2 separate regions of the Homo sapiens genome follow, and region 1 is linked to region 2. Evidence: promoter capture Hi-C in human tissues and cell types (Jung and others, 2019). All regions are on one chromosome and are shown on one strand. The core of a region is centred on a gene start or on the middle of the fragment in contact, and the rest is flanking DNA. Distances in the headings are between cores, read along the strand shown.

Evidence for each region. Contacts are between HindIII fragments. The study calls those that stand out against the background at their distance.
Region 1: a fragment that was not itself captured here is called in contact with the fragment with the promoter of RPL10L in region 2 in 1 of the 25 tissues and cell types used here (lymphoblastoid cells).

Annotation. Positions count from the first base shown.
Region 1 is chr14:47,759,898-47,765,895 of GRCh38, reverse strand. MIR548Y (microRNA 548y) reads left to right here and starts at 4,792; the gene lies at 4,792-4,901. LINC00648 (long intergenic non-protein coding RNA 648) reads left to right here. Exons shown (of 3, transcript NR_039996.1): 3 at 1-943. The HindIII fragment of the contact is 5,503 bases long and covers 265-5,767 here.
Region 2 is chr14:46,649,253-46,655,380 of GRCh38, reverse strand. It overlaps RPL10L (ribosomal protein L10 like), which reads left to right and starts at 3,600. Exons shown (of 1, transcript NM_080746.3): 1 at 3,600-4,371. The coding sequence starts at 3,645. The coding sequence ends at 4,289. It overlaps LOC105370481 (a long non-coding RNA gene), which reads left to right. Exons shown (of 10, transcript XR_001750753.1): 3 at 119-187. The HindIII fragment of the contact is 6,030 bases long and covers 1,707-6,128 here.

The DNA.
Region 1 (5,998 bases), core at 1,767-4,266, 1.1 Mb before region 2:
CCATCTAGAGAACCCCGACAAACATGGGTTGCTATCAACTGGACAAATCATTGCCAACTAAGTTTTTTAGTGCTTCAGCACTTCTACCATAGTTAGTGTGCACTAATGAATGCAAACATTTGTATTACCTAATACATGGTCTGGTACAGCATCCTCAGATGTGAACTATGCTGCCTCCTGTATCCAAAAAGGACTACCAAATGTTGTACTTCCATCTTATTGCAGTGCAGTAAGAAATATTTTGTCCTTTATTTTGTAGATGTCCCATCATGCCCTCAACCACAAAACACCTAAATTTTACGGTTATAATCGCTGTCAGTGGTTGTACGTTGATATTCTATTGTTCCAGCACCATTCTTTTCCTATTAAATTACACTGGCAAATTTGATTAAAAAAAACAACTGACTATATATGCTTGTAAACATTTCCAGATTATGTTATTCTTTTAATCTAAATATGTGTCCTTATGCCAATACCCCACTCCATCTATTACTGCAGTGTATGATAAGTCTTGAAATCTAGTAGTGTAAGTTCTTCAACGTTGCCCTTAATTTTTAAAATCACTCTTGCTATTTAAAATTGTTTGTATTACATGGAAATTTTATAATCAGCTTGCCAATTTCTACAAAAGTCCTGCTGAGATTTTAATTGGTATTTTGCTTGTTCTGCAGCTTAATGCAAGAAAATTATCTTAACAATATTGAATTTTTCAATCTATTAACATGTTATATATTACTGTTTACTTAGGATTTTTTCACTTTTCCTGCCTTGTTTTGAACTGATATTGTGGTTTTAAGTAATTTTTTTTATTTCTACTATTGGCTTAGTAACTATGCCCCACTTTTTGATTTTGTAGCACAGTTGACCATTGAACAACACAAGTTTGAATTGTGCATGTCCAATTGTCTATGGATATTTTTCAATAAAAGTTACACTGAGTGCATCAGCCTCTCTCCTTCTTCTCCTTCTACCTCCTCCAACTGTTCCACCTCTGCCACCCCAAAACAGCAAGAACAACCCCTCCCTTCCTCCTCCTCCTCCTCAGCCTACTCAAGGTGAAGCTGATAAGGTAAGGATGAAGGCTTTTATGATGGACCACTTCTGCTTAATAAATTGTAAACGTATTTGCTCTTCCTTAGGATTTTCCTAATAACATATTCTTTTCTTTAGCTTAATTTATGTTAATAACACAGAATATAATACATGTAACATACAAAATATGCGTCAATTGTTTATGTTTTTGATAAGGCTTCTGGTCTAAAGAAGGCTAATAGCAGTTAAGTTTTTTGGGAGTCAAAAGTTATACGTGGATTTTTCGACTGCATGGGGGTCAAGTTGTTCAAGGGTGAATTGTAGTTCTTCTCATGTTTACAAACTTACCATATTATGTATTTGAATAATAGCACACTAATATCATATATTTACTTACAACATAAGAATCTTACAATTTTATGCTTCTACTTCCTACCTCTCATCCTTTTTTTTTTTTTTTTTTTTTTTTCCTGCCAGCTCCACCTCCCGGGTTCATGCCATTCTCCTGCCTCAGACTCCCGGGTATCTGGGACTACAGGCGCCCACCACCACGCCCAGCTAGTTTTTTGTATTTTTAGTAGAGATGGGGTTTCACCATGCTAGCCAGGATGGTCTTGATCTCCTGACCTCGTGATCCACCCGCCTGGGCCTCCCAAAGTGCTGGGATTACAGGCGTGAGCCACCGCGCCCGGCCTCCTCATCCTTTTATTGTTACAATTGTTATTGTTGACATTCCCTTTATTTCCACTTGTTATAATCTGTTTGCTTTTAACAATTTCTAAATATTTTTAAATGAGGAGAAACAATGCATTTACCCACATAAATATAAACCATATACTTTCATTGTTTTCTGGATTGTAATATTTCAGATGAGAAATGTGCCAATATTCTTATTTTGGTTCCTGAGTAAGTAATGTGTAATTTTTCTTTAGCTATTTTTAAGGTGTTCTCTTTTATCACTGATTTTTTCAACAATTTGGTTATAATGTGCCTCACTGTGATTATCTTTTTCTTTATATGAGGGCAAAGGTGTGTTAAGTTTTGAAAACTTAGTTGTCTATAGTTTAATTCAAAATGGGACAAATTTGTGGTAATTATTTTTGCAAATATTTTTACATCTTCGTTTTTATATCATCAATCACGTAATGTCTGTGCCACTTGAAATTGCTTCACACATCACTGAGACTGTTCAGTGGCTTTTTATTATTTTTCTTTGTGTTTCAGTTTGGATAGTTTCATATCATATGTGTGAGTTCATTGACATTTTCTTCTTCAGTGTCTGGCTACTATTAAAAATCAGGACTTTTTTATTTTATGTATTTTACTTCTTAATTCTAAATTTTGCATTTGCTTCATTTTTATACCTTCCATATCTATTTTTATTCATGTTTCTTTTAAAATTTTTGAACACATTTAAAACAGCTTTTGTGAAGCCCTACTCATATAAATCCACCAATTCTTTCAGTTTCTGTTTCTCTTCACTGATTCTTCTCATGGTCATGGCTCACATTTTCCTGCTTCTTCTCATATACAGTAATTTTAAATTTGGCCCCAAACTATGAGAGCTATATTGTTGAGTGTTTGGATTTTGTTGCCATCCTTTTACAAATGTCAATTTCATTTGGCTAAGTAAGTATGTAATTGTGGATCAGTGTGATTCTTTAGAGGTTTGCTTTTAAGCTTTTTAGGCTGGACTTAGAGAATTCTTTACCTCGGGACTACTTTAGCACTTATACTAAGGCCTGAACCTTCTCATGTTTCCACTGAATGTTGTAGATGTTCAATCTATTCTGGTTGGTTCAGAAGTAAACATTTCCCCGCCCTACCTGAGCTCTGGGAGTCCTTCAGCTTAAAGCTCCCAGCCCTTTGACTTTTCCCATGCATGTACAACTTAGTACCTAGAACATTCTCAAGGAGACCCCTGTGCATATTCCTGGAGCTCCTCCTTCACCTACTTTCCTTCTCACTGGTAATGTGTCCTACACATTCAATATTCCAGGTAAGTCAGTCTTCCCTAACTCTGATCTCTGTTTACTCAACTCAGTGAGATCATGCTAGTGACCCCCTCTGCACCACAGGTTGGAAAGTAGTTCCAGGCAGTTAATAGAGCTCACTTTGTTTCCACTTCCCTTGGACCATAATCCTAAATTGCCTAATCTCCTATATCTGAAAGAATTTGACTCATACATTTTCCAAGTTTTCCAGATATTTATAATGTTAGGAAAGCTCCTGTCTCTGTTAATCAGCATGGCCAGAAGTAAAATTCTGTGTCTGTTCATTCTTGACATTTTCGTGTTTACTGATTTTGTAATTTCACCTATTATTTATTTAAACATTTCATATATAGCATTTTACATTCAATTTCTGATAATTTCTATATCTGAAGCCATTGGGAGTCTTAATTAGATGTTTGCTATTTGTTGTTTCTGCTGTCTCACTCACCATGGCTTGATTTCTTTAATCTTAATCTTTAGGTATCCTAGGGTCAACTTTTTCTCCAGGGTAGAATTTGAAATTATCTCTGCTAGGAGTTTGATGTAGTAAGACCTGGGACCAGGCTTGCTGACATAATGCCAGGTTTCCAGGATCAGCTCCCTCAAGCTTAGTCTCTGGAACACAATGCTAATTTCAACACTTGTCTCAGGCTAGCTCCAACTTTCCCATTTGTGTCTTGCAGGTAGCGCACTGTTCTTTGATTCTATCTCAGGATTCAGGTCATTTTTTGCATGTTTATTAGGTTGTTTATTTAAGGGGTGCTTGGAGATTTACTTATTTCCCTGCAACCACAGCAGTGCATTGAAATGTAGATTTTATAAAGAAGCTAGTAGTTTTCCTCATAAGTTATTTATGTTGATTCTGAAGATCTTTATGTCTTGGGTGTTTGGTTTTGGTTTTAGCACTGTGTGTGTGTGTGTGTGTGTGTGTGTGTGTATGTGTGTGTGTGTGTCTGTGCGTGTGTGTGTAATTTCATCTTATTTTGCAGCAGATCCAGTGTGCTTCTCAAATATTAGGTTCATGCTATTGATTTTGAAAAAATCATCATTACCATCTCATTCCCTCTTATTCTTTCATTGAATCTATCCCATTTTAATCTATTATCTTATTTATCTCTTAAACTTGCTTTTAGTAACTGTAAAATCCTCAGCTCTTTCTCTCTGTTAATTGCCTGTTGAGAATTATCTGCTTTTTAATCATCGTGTCGGAGTCTATTATTTGCTTTCTCAATATCCATATATTTCGTGTAGTAATGCTATTTTTAGCTGAATATGTGTCCATTTACCTAAATATAACATTTTTCAGCACTTTTTGCAGCTACTTTGGGTCAGTTAAATGGTATATACGTGAAATTGATGTACAACATTTGGATCACAGTTTTAAAAGGAAAAGAGTAGGTCTTCCCATTCTTCTTTCCCACTACAATGGAATGTATGTTTGTGGCCCCCTAAATTCATATGTTGAAACCGTAATCCCTCATCTCAATGTGATAGTGTTTGGAGGTGGTACCTTTCAGAGTCGATGAAGTAATACTGTTAGTGCTCTCATGGATGGGATTAGTGCTCTTATGAGAAGAGGCCATAGAGTAGCTAGCTCTCTTCCCTTCATATGAAAATAAGATCTTGGTAGTCTATAAACCAAGAAGTGAGCCTCAACAGACACATAATCTGCCAGCACCTTTATCTTGAACTTCCTAGCCTCCAGCACTATGAGAAACAACTGTTTGTTGTTTAAGCCACCAGCCTATAGTAGTTTGTGACAGCAGCCTAAACTATTAGGTTGGTGCAAAAGTAATCACTGTTTTTGCCATTACTCTCAGTGGCAAAAACCGTGATTACTTTTGCACCAACCTAGTAACACCTTCACTGTGGGGGTGCAGACATGGCAGATGTGGAGCATCCAAGCTGGACTCTGATTAAAAAGCTAATTGAGGAAGTTACAATAAAGGATCTGGTTTGTTGACAATGTGGAAATGTCTTATCTATCATCGAAGTCCTGAAATGCTTACAATTTATGAAAGAGAAATAGGCCGGGCGTGGTGGCTCACGCCTGTAATCCCAGCACTTTGGGAGGCAGAGGCAGGCGGATCATGAGGTCAGGAGGTCGAGACCATCCTGGCTAACACGGTGAAACCCCGTCTCTAACAAAAGTACAAAAAATTAGCTGGGCGTGGTGTCGGGCACCTGTAGTCCCAGCTACTCCGGAGGCTGAGGCAGGAGAATGGCGTGAACCCGGAAGGCGGAGCTTGCAGTGAGCCAAGATGCATCACTGCACTCCAGCCTGGGCGACGAGCGAGACTCTGTCTCAAAAAAAAAAAAAAAAAAGAAAGAGAAATAAACATCTATCTTATCTGAACTACTGTTTATGTGGAATTTTGTCAAAGCCACCCATATCCTGTTCAGGATTTATATATATTATATATATATAAATCTATATATTAGAAGGTTTTTCTTATTTAATATATTTTTCATTTTATAACTTCTATTTGGCCTCTTTTCAAATATATCTGCTTTTTATGTCACCTTATCTCTTATAGTAATTGATTTCCTCTTTCCTGCTTCATTCAATTTAAAGCTACTTATTTTATAGTCTCTATGTCAGAGTCTGATCTGAGAAGCAGTACCACCAGATTTGTGTATAATAAGGGATTTGTAATAGGGATTTGCCTTATATATTTGTGGAAACTGTTGAAAAGTCTTTGTGAAACTATTGTTTCTGTGTCTAGTGCTGAGCCTAAAGTCATCAGCGCACACAGTCTGAAAGATAAAATGGACGTAAAATGAGGGAAGCGAGACAAACTGGTACCTGCAAGAATAAACCCGAATCTATCAGGACAGAGTTGCAACCCTGCTTCCATGTGTCCAACTTTAAAGTTGGGGTAATCTGCAGGAGGAGCTGCTATGAGCTAAACCATACCTCACTGAAAGTCAGAGTGATTGAAAGTGGGTGTCTGGCAGCTGTGGCATTTCTG
Region 2 (6,128 bases), core at 2,351-4,850:
CATGTTCCCCTTTGAAAACAAAGTCAGGTTTAGCTCATTGTGAAACATTTGAAAGATTATATCAAAAAAGGAAAGTAAATGCTGTGTTGAACTAATACACAGAACTGTTCTTTTCCAGCCTTTGCGTGAAGACAGAGGATATCTGGAATTTGATTGTATTTCTCACACTGTCTAGTGCTAATTACAAGTAAGTAATCAATAAGTAAAGTACTTACAATCAATAAGTAAAGAATACCGCAGGCCTCTTAAGGGTTGTGAAACCGGAGGGAGAAACCACAGAGGGAAACTGTTTCACAGTCAAAGCTGAATCAAGTTTAAGTATTCGTACCTGTCTGCTTTCTAAGGGCTCCTAAAAAAGATCTCTCCCTGATCATTCCAAAATGTATTATTATAGGATATGCATTATTAGCATTAACAAAAGACAAGTTTGTCTTTTCTGTCTTGTGTATGCACACCAAATGGCAGCATGCTGGAGCTGGCTAACACTAGCTTACAGAAGCTGATAGTGCACATCTCTCCCCATCTTTGTGCTCAGTAAATCACACTGATGTTTGAAACTGATGACGGGAAAAGTATTTCTACCAAATCAATCAGCAAACACTACAAATCAGGGATTTCTCCTCAAAATCCTGACCTCCACTAAGAGCAGGTTGTTAAATGTTTATTAACACCGCACCGCGCCTCCGAAGTGTGTGTATTCCTTGTGCTACTCGTCACACAATGTGCCAAAAACAGGGGACAAAACAGTGAACCAGGTAGAGATATTTCTGTTCTCATATCTCTTAATGGTTTTATGAAGTTGTGTTGCTTCATTTCTACCATATCCCATATTTCTACTTGTGAATGTTCTACCCATTCTTTAAGCCATCTCTATTATACATGATATTAGTGTCTCCCTTAGCTATATATCTCAAAGCAGACAAGTTTTATATATTTTTGCAAGGTTTGCTTAGCATGATGTACACTGTGGATGGCAAGAGTAGAGAGGTAGGGAAACTCTCAAAATGTTGGAATTGATTAAGAGGAATGCTTGTAATATTTCAACAGAATGGTGGTGCTTCATGCATTTTTCCACAGGATCTCCTCTTATATCTGCAAGGTTAGGAAAAGAAGTATAAACAGAGGATCCCAGTGTGGACCTCCCTTTCCTCTTTCCTCCCTCCTAATCTGCAACTGTGAAGGGCCTCATGCATGAGTGGAGTAGGGTGGCCAACCCTCCCACTTCGCGTGGTATTAAGGGGTTTTGCAGGACCTAGGACTTGAATGTTAAAACTGGTACAGACCCGGACAAACCAGGATTGCTCAAGCTTTGGATTAAAGAAAGAAACTTATGTAGACAGGCCCCCACAGCAAAACAGCATCTGCTGGTCAGATAATTCTAGCATTTTGGCAACATTAGACAGGTGGGAGATCAGACAAGTGGAAGTGAGTGTGTCGTGGCACATAAACTCTGGGCGTCTTCCTTTTGCCTCACAAACACCTCTCCCTGAGGCGCGATCATAGATTCAGAGCATGTAGTAGTATAAAAAAGATACTAACTTGTATATAAAGTCAAATATTTTAAAGTATGTTCAAGTTATAGTGTGTTTTCTGCAGTATTGCGAAGTCTTCCTTTCTGATCTCCTTGCATACCTTTTTTGGGCTGGTTTCAGTCTATTCACCATACCATAACCAGAGTGATGAAACCTAAGTAAAGCTCTTTAATGGCCTCACATTAAAGATCAGGATCCCTAACTTGGTAAAATGGGCCCTGTATGAAAGCATGACCCCTTCTCTCTCACACATACACACACTCTGGGCTCATGTTATGTGACTCATTTTCTCACTCACAGTCACATTGGCCTGACTTTAAGTTCCTTAAAATGTTCCATATTTCTGCCTGCTTCAGGCCTTTTATACATCAGACCCCATGTGCCATGGTCACTACATGAAATTTCTTTTCTGATAAAGATTTTCCTGTCTATTCCTCAGTCTGGATCAAGGTCTCATCCCCAGCCTCATCCCACAGTCTCAGGGCTTACTTTGCTTTTCCTTTTTGGCACATTTTACACTTGGTAATATGATGATATATGAGAAGTATCTATATCCTCTCCTAGGCTTGTAAGCTTGGTGAGAGCAACATGGTATTAGCTACTTTATCTCAATATGTTAAACAGGAACTAGTTGAGAAAAAGGGGAAAGAAGAAATGAAGGAAGAAAAGGGAAGTGAGAAAGCTTTCTTAAAGGTCAGAAAGTTTTCTACATTGGGAGATTTAATTGTTTTATCTTTAGTATTTTGTAAAAATCCACTCACTTTAAGGGCAGGAGTTATTTTTCTCCCTTAAAACAAAGAGTATTGACAGAATATATTCACATTGGGGGGATTTTGTTCCATGATGTAATGGATTTGTGAAACAACATTAAAACAAAAAAGAAAACTAGAAAAATGCAAGTAGGGTTTGTAAACTATTAATTTCTTTTCCTCTCTCTTCTTCCTCCTTTCCTACACTCTGATCCCTGTCATAATATTTTTACAAACTCTGAGAAGAAAAAAAGTTTAAATTTATTCTCAGGGGCAAAAGATTACTAAAACACAAACTGTTACTCTTTTATATAGTTTCAGCAGCTTTAACATTTGAAAATGCAAATAGCCTTAAGTTAAAAAAAATCTAGTTGGTGTTTCAATTTTGTATATATCATTTTGATAATAAAATCATTTCTTTAGGCCAAATAAAGAAAAAACAAAGTTTCATGTTTATAAAACAATTGCCAAGCTACAGATACAACAGATATCTTCTCTTTATCCCTCTCTCTTCTCTTCCTCTCATCTCTTCCTGAGTCTCATCAAAGCACTCATGCCAAGAAACCACTTTATCCAGGGAAGGTGGCCACATAACCCAAGAAACAGCAATTGATCTACAAATGCTGACAGTGAGATACAAGCTCTGGAAAATGAACTGACCAAACTGGAAACAGCATGTTGAATAACTGGAAGGATTTTTCCTCTCAAATTCTAGGATTTCTTTTTTTCTTTTTCTTTAGACAGGGTCTCCCTCTGTCACTCAAGCTGGAGTGCAGTGGTGCTATCTCAGCTCACTGCAGTTTCTGCCTGCAGGGCCCAGGCGATCCTCCCACCTCAGCCTCCTGAGTAGCTGGGACTACAAGCATGTGCCACCATGCCCAGCTATTTGATATATATATATTTTTTTTTTTGTAGAGACAGCATTTCACTATATTGCCCAGGCTGGCCTCGAACTCCTGAGCTCAAGAGATTCTCCTGCCTGGAAATAACCTCTTTTATACTTAAAGCAAAGCTGAAAGCAAGAGTTCCTAGCCCAAGATGGCTAGCAGAAAGGAAGCAGCAGCTGTGCAGTTGGGGCGGGGCCCAATTCCTTCCCTGGCCGCCAGGGGGAGTCTACCCACAGCTGACTCTGCTCACCTTAAGCGCGCCACTTGGCGCAGGCGCTGAGGCGCCAGACGTCCCTGCGTCTCTGGTTGGGACGTCCTGAAAGAGAGTCGTCACATCCTCCTCAGGACTCTATGGTTCCGGCCTCAGGACTCTATGGTTCCCGCGAGGGACGAGGGGCAACGTATATAAATGCGCGCAGGCGTAGTTAAGAGAGCGCATTTTGACTTCGAGGCACCGCCGACGTTACTGTGTCGCCATGGGGCGCCGTCCAGCTCGCTGTTACCGGTATTGTAAGAACAAGCCGTACCCAAAATCTCGTTTCTGCCGAGGGGTTCCTGATGCCAAGATCCGCATCTTTGACCTGGGTAGAAAGAAGGCAAAAGTGGATGAGTTCCCACTCGGTGGCCACATGGTGTCTGATGAATATGAGCAGCTGTCTTCTGAAGCCCTGGAGGCCGCCCGTATTTGTGCCAACAAATACATGGTGAAAAGTTGTGGCAGAGATGGCTTTCACATGCGAGTGCGGCTCCATCCCTTCCATGTCATCCGCATCAACAAGATGTTGTCCTGTGCTGGGGCTGACAGGCTCCAGACAGGTATGCGAGGTGCCTTTGGAAAACCCCAGGGTACTGTAGCCCGGGTCCACATTGGTCAAGTCATCATGTCCATCCGCACCAAGCTTCAGAACGAGGAGCATGTGATTGAAGCCTTGCGCAGGGCCAAGTTCAAGTTCCCTGGACGCCAGAAGATTCATATCTCCAAGAAGTGGGGCTTCACGAAGTTTAATGCTGACGAATTTGAAGACATGGTGGCCAAGAAGTGCCTCATCCCTGATGGTTGTGGAGTCAAGTACGTTCCCAGTCATGGCCCCTTGGACAAGTGGCGGGTTCTGCACTCATGAAGGTTTTGGCAGTACTGTCTCCTTGGGCCATGCTGGTCTGACTTATGCTTACTAATAAATTCTGTTTACTGGCAAAAAATAACTCCTTATTAAGTTTTAATATTTTTTAAATATCCAATGTTTTAGAATATAGACTACTAGAGAATTTTTTTCTATTTATTCAGTTTTAATGGCAAATGTTACCTTCCTTGCTTCAGTAAAACTATACAATTTATAGAGAAAGCTGTTTTAAGCAAACACTTTAAATTTAGGAGAGTATAGAGCAATATGTTGAAAGTTTTGTTTGTAGTAAAGTCATAAGTTATGCAGCTATCATTCCTTGAATAAAAAATAGATTTGAGTGAAAAAATTTGTTTATAGAATATAAACTAAACAGTAGCGATGAAAATAATAGTAGGCATTAGTGATATTTCACCCACAGCCTCTTTGGAAGTAATTTATTTCTAAACTTGGTTGCCTTATGTTTTTCTATAAATTTCTGTACATTGTTTTTAGAATTACCTTACACGTCTGATTATCAGCCTTAGGACAATTGAGTATCACTCTGAAAGGCTTTTCCAGACGAACTTTACATTGTCTCACAGTCAAGAGATAACAGTCTAATCTTTTTTTCATCATAGAAAGGTCATAGGTGACAACAGAGTTCATATTACTTGTATCTGGGCTCCAGTAGAACCAAAAGAAGAGAGAAAATGACACTAAATCGGTTATCTGTGCTATAAAAGGACCCTAAAGAGAGTTTGCAATTGTAGGTGCTTGCCCTGAATTAGAGTTACGTTGATGACACAGGTGCTTTTTGTTTTATTTTTGAAACTACATAAGCTAAAATTCCTGAGTTTGTACTGCATTAAAAAAAATTCTTGTTCTTTACAATTGACTTAGCCTTTTGAATCTCAATCCTGCTAACAGTGCCTTCAGTGTTTTTAGACTAACGGTTCTTTTTCAAAGTCAACACATTTAATGAAAACAACAAAAGAAATAGTAAGAAACACTACTATTTAATTTTCATTTATTTAAAGAAATGCTATGTCAGTCTTAACATATTGTATCTGGCTGGATATTTATTTTAGGCCCTTGCTATAAGATATTTCCTATTTGTATATATTTAAGCTATGTTGCTATTTTAAGACGTTTTTCATGTTTGCGTTTTACCACACTTTCAAAAACGAAAATTCAACCTCTAAATAATAATAATAATCAAAAGAGAAAGGCAATACAAAACACAATAAAATCAGCAACCCCTTAGCTTCTAGTACAACCATGGCCCAGCTTTGAAAATATTTTCCATCTTCATTATTTCCCTTTCTCTTTGGTCTTAAACCTCTCAAAACATCTTGACCTTCAAACTTGGAACTCTGCACTCAACTAAATATATAGGGAGAGAGGTTAAGTATAAGCTCATGAACTTCCTTGCCCTAAGAGATTGGTAACAGTAATTGTTTATGCATATAGATATGGGAGTGAAGAGGAAATGAATGATTAAGAATTAATGCATTAAAAACTGGTAGGTAGCTGTCAATAAATTTTTTATTTGAATTTTCCCACAGTTTCACGTTATAAAGATTATATATAAATTCTTTTTTTAAACGTTGACATACAAGCACTTTTACTTGTTTTTGTTAAAAATCCTTCCTACTAATTTTCCCCAAGTCATTATTTTGTTTTTTCAGCATTTTCTTATTTTAGGGTCATTCTAATTATTTAAAAAAAAAATAGTAAGACAATTGGGCTGAAGGATCATTTAATTATAATTTTGCAGAGTTCGTTATTTTAAAATTTCTGCTCAAAATAGAAAATTGCATTTGGGAACATATTTCTGTTCATCTACTGCTGCAATAA